2 separate regions of the Homo sapiens genome follow, and region 2 is linked to region 1. Evidence: promoter capture Hi-C in human tissues and cell types (Jung and others, 2019). All regions are on one chromosome and are shown on one strand. The core of a region is centred on a gene start or on the middle of the fragment in contact, and the rest is flanking DNA. Distances in the headings are between cores, read along the strand shown.

The links. The method cuts DNA at HindIII sites, captures the fragments that hold promoters and counts their contacts. A contact is called where the count stands out against the background at its distance.
Region 2: a fragment that was not itself captured here is called in contact with the fragment with the promoter of SDAD1 in region 1 in 1 of the 25 tissues and cell types used here (hippocampus).

The regions. Positions count from the first base shown.
Region 1 is chr4:75,988,681-75,993,045 of GRCh38, forward strand. It overlaps SDAD1 (SDA1 domain containing 1), which reads right to left and starts at 2,265. Exons shown (of 22, transcript NM_018115.4): 1 at 2,072-2,265. The coding sequence starts at 2,161. All of the region lies in intron 1 of SDAD1-AS1 (SDAD1 antisense RNA 1), which reads left to right. The HindIII fragment of the contact is 8,316 bases long and covers 1-4,365 here.
Region 2 is chr4:76,192,580-76,196,944 of GRCh38, forward strand. It overlaps SCARB2 (scavenger receptor class B member 2), which reads right to left. Exons shown (of 12, transcript NM_005506.4): 2 at 3,128-3,285. Among named protein-coding and RNA genes, the nearest start is that of SCARB2, 19 kb to the right of the region's middle. RefSeq lists a silencer at 2,939-2,998. The HindIII fragment of the contact is 7,495 bases long and covers 1-4,365 here.

The sequences.
Region 1 (4,365 bases), core at 1,015-3,514:
CAGCATTGTGCCTTACATATAGCAGGTAATCAACAGTATTTGTCAAATGAACGAACTTCAGGAAATGGCACTATCATCTACCTAGACATATAAATAAAAAACCTGGGTGATCCTTCATTCCTTCTTTTTTCCTTATCCCCCACATCCACTCCACCAGAAATCCCAAGGCTCTACTAGCTCTACCTCCACGTAGAACAGCACGAATCTTTGCCCATAATTCCAATGACACCACAATCCCTTGCTTGGTTATTCTGAGATCCATTATATTAGTTACCCTGCTTCCAGTGTTGCTCCTCTACAAGCCATTCCACATGTAACTTCCAGAGTAAATTCTTAAAAAAAATATGTCAGATCATGTCACTCTCCTGCTTAAAACTCTTCAATCACTCCCCGAGGCACTCAGAGTGAAATCTAAACTCGTTAACAGGGCCTAAGAGGCTCTGAATAAGCTGACCCCTGCCTGCATTTCCTACATCATCTTCCACTGCCCTCTTCTATGCTGACTACACTTTAGCTACACTGGCTTCTTCTCTGCTTTTTTTCCACCAGTAGCTTCTGCACTTTCTATTCCTTGTACCTAAAATGATGTTTACCTGCCTGGCTCAATATCATCATTGCAGAGCCACCTTCCCTGTTTACGGGGTCTAAATCAGAAGCCTCCAATTCTAACCTATTCCCATCCAGTTTTATTTTCTTCATAATCTCTACCATAATAAGTCTACACTCACTTGAATGTAAGTCCAAGAGAAGAATGCTTTCTTATCTGTCTTATTCATTACTGTACCCCAACGCCTACCTAGAATAACAACACACAGTAGTTATATGTGATTTTGCATATATACTTAAGTGAATTAAAGAAGTAGTTATTACCCCCTTCTTACATATTAAAATACCCACATAGGCTCAGCGATTAACCTGCTTCGGTTACACAACTGGTTAACAACAGTCAGCAGCAGGAGTTATCTAACGGAATTATATAGACTCTCAACTTACCACTTTCTTTGCGAATGGCTATACAATGCTTTAAGCATCTCAAAGCCTTGCCTATGTTACTTAACTTCTTGTACTTGTTTCCTACTCTTTATTTCCACTACCTTGATCCTTGGAGAGGCTTTCTCTACTGGTGACCTAAGCCACTGAGATTGCCATGTGTTAAAAAGCACTCATAAAATACATATATGTGAAAATTTAGGGGAGGAGGGAAGTGAGAAGGGCAATGAAAAAATAAGTAATTGTGTTAGCCACTGAACAAATCACAATCTGGTAGAAGCACAAACATGTAATTGCAGCAAATGCCTAGCAGAGATACCTGTTTAATGCCCGTCTGATAAATGAGTGTCTGAAGGAAGCACCTGTCAGATTAATATATCAAAAACCACTTTCGTTTTGTCGGTACTTGGTTCAAACACCCCTAATGTTCACAACTTACATGAGGTCAGTACACAAAGCCCATCACAATGAGGGCCTAATTTTTCAACCTAATCTTTTCCCGAAGCAAATTCTGACATCCGAGTCATGCCAGTCTCCGGTAAGTTTGAATCCTGGCTTAACTAAATATACTAAGCTCCCGAGTCTGTCCGTTGTGCTTGAGAAACCCCCCCCCCCCCTTTCCTGGCACAGTCCAGGGTACACAGCCTGCTCTCAGAAACGGACGTCAATCGAAAGCATTCTAACATACGATTCATCAAAGGTTACCGACTAATTCAAGTTTGGGATTTCTGAAAAGAGGCTGAGAAATCCGCGTGGAAGTTGGTGGTTGGGTGCGGCCCATTTCTCTCTCCACTTCCGTGCGGACGAAGAAAAATATCTTAAAACAAAATGAGGTTTTAAAGGTGTTTCAGCGGCAGCAGGGCAGGTAGAAAATCCAAAGGGGCAACAGATTTTCAAGAGGTGGGGAACGAACCCTAAGGCATGTCCCGTCCCCAACCCCTTCTCTCCTCTGGAGGGACCCCTGAACCTAACAGAAGAATAGGCGGCGAGCCTGGATCCCAGCCCCACTCCATGCTTTCCCGCACCGGCGTCTCAACCATCCACTATCCGGCCTCTAGCGTCTGCCGCGCCGCACTCCCACCTCCTCGATGTAGGCCGGCGGGTCTCGCTTGATTAGATTCTGTAACTGCGGCAGGTTGCTGGGAAGCTTGTTGTTGTTTCTGTTGGACATTTTGGCTGCAGACAGACTTCGCGGCGAGCAGTTTTAAAAAAACTCAGACGGCCGGCACCCCGCAATCCCTGCCAGCTGCAGCTTGGACTCGTGTTTCCGGGTATGACCGGAAATAGCGCATGGGACTCTAGGCAGGCGACACCTTAGCGGTTCCTAAAGCGAGCTATGCTACGGAAGCCTCAGAGTGTCAAAATTACTCTCGTTGCCAAAATACTCTGTGGTGTATTGGAGAGCCAGCCACCGCCGACCCGCCCCTCGCCCTTGGGCATATGCTACTACTTAATATTGCCTTGCGTTTCTGAAAGGATCTGAAATGTAAATTTTTTCACGTGTGTTAGCATGTATCGTCATTCCGACACCCATATGAAGCACATAAATGAGGATTAATCGTTTATTTTTAATCCCGCAGTCTAAAATTAGAAACTGACGCCTGTAATCCCAGCACTTTGGGAGGCCAAGGCGGGCCTGAGGTCGGGAGTTCGAGACCGGCCTGATCCACATGGAGAAACCCCGTCTCTACTAAAATTACAAAATTAGTCGAGCGTGGTGGCGCATGCCTGTAATCCCAGCTACTAGGGAGGCTGAGGCAGGAGAATCGCTTGAACACAGGAGGCGGAGATTGCGGTAAGCCGAGATTGCACCATTTCACTCCAGCCTGGGCAACAAGAGCGAAACTCCGTATAAAAAACAAAACAAAACAAAACAAAACTGAAAAGAACCGTGGCGCTAGATAACACTATTCCCTCTTAGGAGGAAAAAAGAGCAACGAGGGTCATATAAGTTAATGTGTATGATTTTAGATATGTTTTTATTTTGGTTTTGGTTGTTTCAACTTAGCGTGACCCATACAAGGGAAAAGAGGGCTGGATAAAATGTGATCATGTTGACCATTAATAAATGCAATTAATCGTTAAAATTCAACCATCGTTATAAGCTTTGTAAGCACTCCTCAGTCAGAGTTTTTAATTCAGATCCTGGTAATTCGAAGAGGAGAATACATTTCTACAATCTCAAGGTGTAAAAAATCAATAAGGGTTGAATGAATGAGGTAGGGTGTTGTGAATTAGAGAGAGAGAAAAAAAAACCTAATTACCCACCCTGTGCCAGGCACTATTCCAAGCACTTGTATTAACTTATTTAATCCTCAGAACAACCCTCTAAAATAGGTGCTATTGTTATCTACATTTTACAGAAGAGGAAACAAGCTCAGGGAAGTTGACTGCCTCAATTCATAGCCTGTGAGGAAGATGAGATTTCAATCTAGACAGTCTTGATTGTAACTACATGAGAAAAAACATAGCCTAACAGCTGGTAGCTGGTTGCTGGTCTGGCAAAATAGCCAGACAATAGGGTTCTGCTTAACCAAAGCAATTTTATAGAACGCCAACCTCATCTGTGACGATGATAAAATGAGCCCCAAACAAAACAACTCTGTAATCACACCTGCACACAAAATAAAGAATGCTTCACAAACCATGTTATTCAGCTGCTTTTGGAGAATGACTTATTTATTAATTATCAAATCAGTTACCTGTGAAGTTAAGAAATAAATGTCAGCAATAAATCTTTTTTAAAAAGCATAGATTTAAATTAAAATTTTTTGGCTAGGTTGTTTTAGTGAGGGCAAAAAAAGTATTCTCAAAACAAAATCTGGCTAAGTGTGGTAGCTCAAGCCTGTAATCCCAGAACTTTGGGAAGCCAAGGTGGGAGAACCACTTGAGCTGGGTAGTTCAAGACTAGCCTGGGCAATATAGTGAGACCCCATCTCTACCAAAAAGTTGAAAAATCAGCCAGGCATGGTGGCACAGGCTTGTGGTCCAAGCTACTGAGGAGGCTGAAGCAAAAGGGTTGCTTGAGCCCAGGAGGTTAAGGTTGCAGTGAAGCACTGCACACCAGCCTGGGCAATACAGTGAGACCCTGTCTCAAAAAAAAAAAAAAAAGAAAAAAGACTGCGTACAGGTACTTGAAAATGTCTGGTGTATTGAAACAATAGCCATAAGTTTGGTGTGACTAAAGGCTGGGAGGGCAGGGTGCAGCAGGGAAAGAGCTGAGAAGGTTATATTGTCCTGATATGAAAGGCTTTAATTGCTATTCTAAGGAGGGCATATAGGTCAGTTCATTTTACCTCCAGCAGCATGGAAGGCAGGATTTGTTTTTGATAAATGAGAACTCTAAGACTAAGAGTGGCTAACTGAATATATATT
Region 2 (4,365 bases), core at 843-3,342, 200 kb after region 1:
AGGGAAGCAGAACATAGAGGTTTGGAAAATTTGCAACCTGGCCATGTGGCAGAGAAAGAAAAGCATTTCCGCAGTCTGGGCAACATAGGGAGACTCTGTCTCAAAAAAAAAAAAAGTTAAAAATTAGCCAGGCATGGTGGCACTTGCCTGTAGTCCTAGATACTTGGGAGGCTGAGGCAGGGGGAACCCTTGAGCCCAGGAGGTCAAGGCTGCAGTGAGCCATGATCATGCCACCGCACTCTAGCCTGGCAACAGAGACCCTGTCTCAAAAACAAAACAAAACAAAATATTTTTGTGGGGAGATAAATTCAAGCAGGCTGTAGAGCAACCATTGCTAAAACGATTTGCATAACTAAAAAGAAGCCAAGTGCTGAGAGTCAAGACAATGGGTAAAAGGCCTTGAAAACATTTCAGAGATCTCTGAGACAGCCCCTTCCATCACAGGCCCTGAGACCTAAGAGGACTGAGTGGTTTCAGGGACCAGGCCAGGGGCACTACTTCCCTGTGCTGTTTCCCACATCCCAGCCACTCCAGCTCCAGACATGGCTCAAAGGGGCTCAGGTACAGTTCAGGCCACTCCTCTGGAGGGTGCAAGCCATAAGCTTTGGCAGCTTCCATGTGATGTTAAGCCTGCAGGAACACAGAGTGCAAGAGTGAAGGAAGCTTGGCATCCTCCACCTAGATTTCAGATGATGTATGAGAAAGCCTAAGTGCCCCAGCAGAAGCCTGCTCCAAGGGCAGAGCCCTCAAGAGAAACTCTACTAGGGCAGTGAGGAGGGGAAATGCGGAGCTGAAGGCTCCACAAAGAGTCCCCACTGAGGCACTGCCTAGTGGAGCTGTGGGAAGAAGGCCACCGTCCTTGAGACACCAGAATGGTAGAGCCACCATCAGCTTGCAATCTCAGCATAAAAAAGCTACTGAGGCGGAGCTGCCTAAGGCCTTGGGAGCCCACCCCTTGCACCAGTGTGCTCTGGATGTGAGACACGGAGTCAAAGAAGATGATTTTGGAGCTTTATGATTTAATAACTGCCCTGTTGGGTTTCAGACTTGCTTGGGGCCTGTAGCCCCTTTCTTATGGCCAATTTCTCCCTTCTCAAATGGGAATGTTTGCCCAATGCTGATACACCCATTGTATCTTGAAAGGAAATAACTTGTTTGATTTTACAGGCTTATAGGTAGAAGGAATTCATTTCTAGATGAGACCTGGGACTTAGGACTTTTGAGTTAATGCTGGAATGAGTTAAGACTTTGGGGGACTATTGAGAAGGGATGATTATATTTTAACATGTGAGAAGGACATGAAATTTGGAGGCCAGGGGTGGAATGATATAGTTTGGATGTCCCCTCCAAATCTCATGTTGAACTGTAATCTTCAGTGTTGGAGGTAGGGCCAGGTGGGAGCTGTTTGGGTCATAGGGGAGGATCCCTCAAGGTTTGGTGCTGTCCTCACAACAGTGGGTGACTTCTCACGAGATCTTGTTGTTGTAAAAGTGTGGCACCTCCTCACCCCTTGCTCCTGCTTTCACCATGTAACGTGCCTGCTCCTGCTTTGCCTTCTGCCATGAGTAAAAGCTCCTTGAGGCTTCCCCAGAAGCCGAGCAGAGCCAGTGTGCCATGTGTGTACAGCCTGCAGAACCATGAGCCAATTAAACCTCTTTTCTTTATAAATTACCCAGTCTCAGGTATTTCTTCATAGCAATGCAAAAATAGCCTAATCCAACTAATAGTAAGAGCAAACACTTAAGTATCACTAATTATGTGCTAGGCACTAGTCTAAGCACTTTATACATGACTCATTGACTCAATCTTTGTAAAAACCATGTGGAGGAGGTCCTATTTTTATCCCCATTTTATAGATAAGGAAATGGAAGCACAGAGAACTAGTAAGTTGCAGAGGCGGGAATCAAAATGGGTCATCTGACTCCAGAGTCAGAGCATGAGCACCCAAGGCAGGAACTAGGATTTTTATCTCTGAATTCCCACCACTGAGAATAGTACTGATTCATAGCACATGAATCAGTCAGCAATAATTTATTGAGCAATCGATTACAACAGAATTGTCAGGCATTTTTATCATTCAGCAGTTTTGAAAAAGAAAGATCTTGTTGTCTGCTTCCTCTATTAATTTGTTTTCTAACCTGGTAAGGAGAGACTTTATTGGAAAGATTATTGTATGGGAGAGGGAGGAGGTATTGTAATAGGGAAAAGGGGAACATTGCAACAGAGAAAATGCTCTGATTCAAGCGTCTCCCTCTACTAATCGTTTAAAAATGATTAAAGGGATCCTGATTCCCCAGTGTTTGGAATTGGTGGTCACCAGCAAAGACTCTAACAGCCTCTGCTACTTGCTTATTGCTTATACGCAGGATAGGTGGAGAAAAGGAGCGGGTAAGAAACAGAAAGATCTGTCTCAGACAAAAGTAAATTCTGGAACTGCTTTAAAACTAGTTATGTGGGGAATGGAAATGGAGGGAGGCCCTAAAAGTCACTTAAGAATATCAAGCAGTAGCCAGGCATGGTGGTGCTCACGCCTGTAATCCCAACACTGTGGGAGGCTGAGGCGGGAGAATCACCTGAGCCCAGGAGTTCAAGACCAGCCTGGGCAATATAGCAAGACCTCATCTCTACAAAAAAAATTATCTGGGTGTGGTGGTGAACACTTGCAATCCCAGCTACTAGGGAGGTTGAGGCAGGAGGATCACTTGAGCCCAGGAGTTGGAGGTGGCAGTGAGCTATGACTGCTCTACTGCACTCCAGCCTGGGCAACAAAGCCAGACCTTGTCTCTTAAAAAAATAAAATAAAATAAAATAAGAATATCAAGGGGCAACCTTAAAAGGGTCAGGGTAAGGAGTAACCCTTCATGGTTTAATAATCACAGTCTGCCAACTCAGGAGGAAACCGCTGCACTTCAAAACACAACACGCTGAGACTTGGCCCAGTCTACAAAGCCATTCTCTGCTGAGGTTTCACACACACATACAAAACATCAGCAGCGTTTCAGACAATGAAATCAGAAAGTGTGCTCCCACACAGCCCTGGAGCCTTGCTCCTGGGAAGAGGCAAGGACTCAGGCCATATTGGGGTCACTCTGTATTTCTTTCAAGACAGGAGGTGGTCAAGACTTACCTGTAGGTGTATGGCCCCACTTCTTCCACCCGAGGGGTCTCCCCTCTGAGGATCTCCTCTGGATTGGTGACATTGAAGAAATAGAACTGAGTATACACAGGCAGAGGGGGCTTCTCCCAGGAGTCAAATGCCTCAGTACCATTCCTTAACACAATTTTCTAGGAAAAAACCAAAAGGAGATTTACAAAAATGTAAGGCAATAGTTGGCTTTAAACCCAAGAAGCAGAGGAAGGGACGCCCCCTATTCTGACCTCCTAGATCACTATTTTAATCATTTCACAGGCATTCAACTGCAGTCTCCTGAGAACAGGGCCATATCTTACACCAATAGAGCCCACAGTTCTAATAAGTCAGAGAAGGCCTTCGATAAATATTTGTAAAGGGGCCGGGCCCAGTGGCCCAACACTCTGGGAGGCCAAGGCGGGCAGATCACTTGAGGTCAAGAGTTCGTGCTTGGTCAACATGGTGAAACCCCGTCTCTACTAAAAATACAAAAATCAGCCAGGTGTGGTGGTGCGTGCCTGTAATCCTGGCTAGTCGGGAGGCTGAGGCAGTAGACTTGCTTGAACCTGGGAGGTGGAGGTTGCAGTGAGCCAAGATCGTGCCACTGCACTCCAGCCTGGGTTACAGAGCAAGACTCTGTCTCAAAATAAATTAACTAGTTAATTAATTAATAATTGTAAAGGAAGGGTACTAAAGACAGCACTTGGGCAGAAGCATGAAGCATAGTGTTTCCAAAACCTAGGGCACAGATTGAGTGCCTAAAGGGCCTGCTGGCTTTGTTATTTTTGAAGATTCCATGGATGGTGTATCTTCTGTAGAAGTTAAGCAATTCTGAAAAGCACCATACACTCCCAGTTTGCCCAGATGAGAGAATAACAAGGGGAAGGGCCCAAGAAGGCCAGTTTTGGTCCTTTTTCAAGTCAAACCACATCCATCCCTACCGCCTCCACCACCAGGGGCTTTAAATGTATTTTCTTATTGGATCCCCAAAAACCCTAAAATGGAACTGCCTATCCCCGTTTCAAAAACCAGGAGGCCTAGCCTCACTGAGGTTAGCTGACAATGGAGACTGCACTCTGCACACAATCCCTCCTGCACTTTCCACCCCTGTTCTGTGTTACAGGATGAATAATGCCCCCCATACTCTAAATTCCTAAGCTGAAGTCCTAACCCCCAATACCTCACAATGTGCCTGTATTTGGAGTCGGGGTCTTTAAAGAGCTGATGAAGGTTAA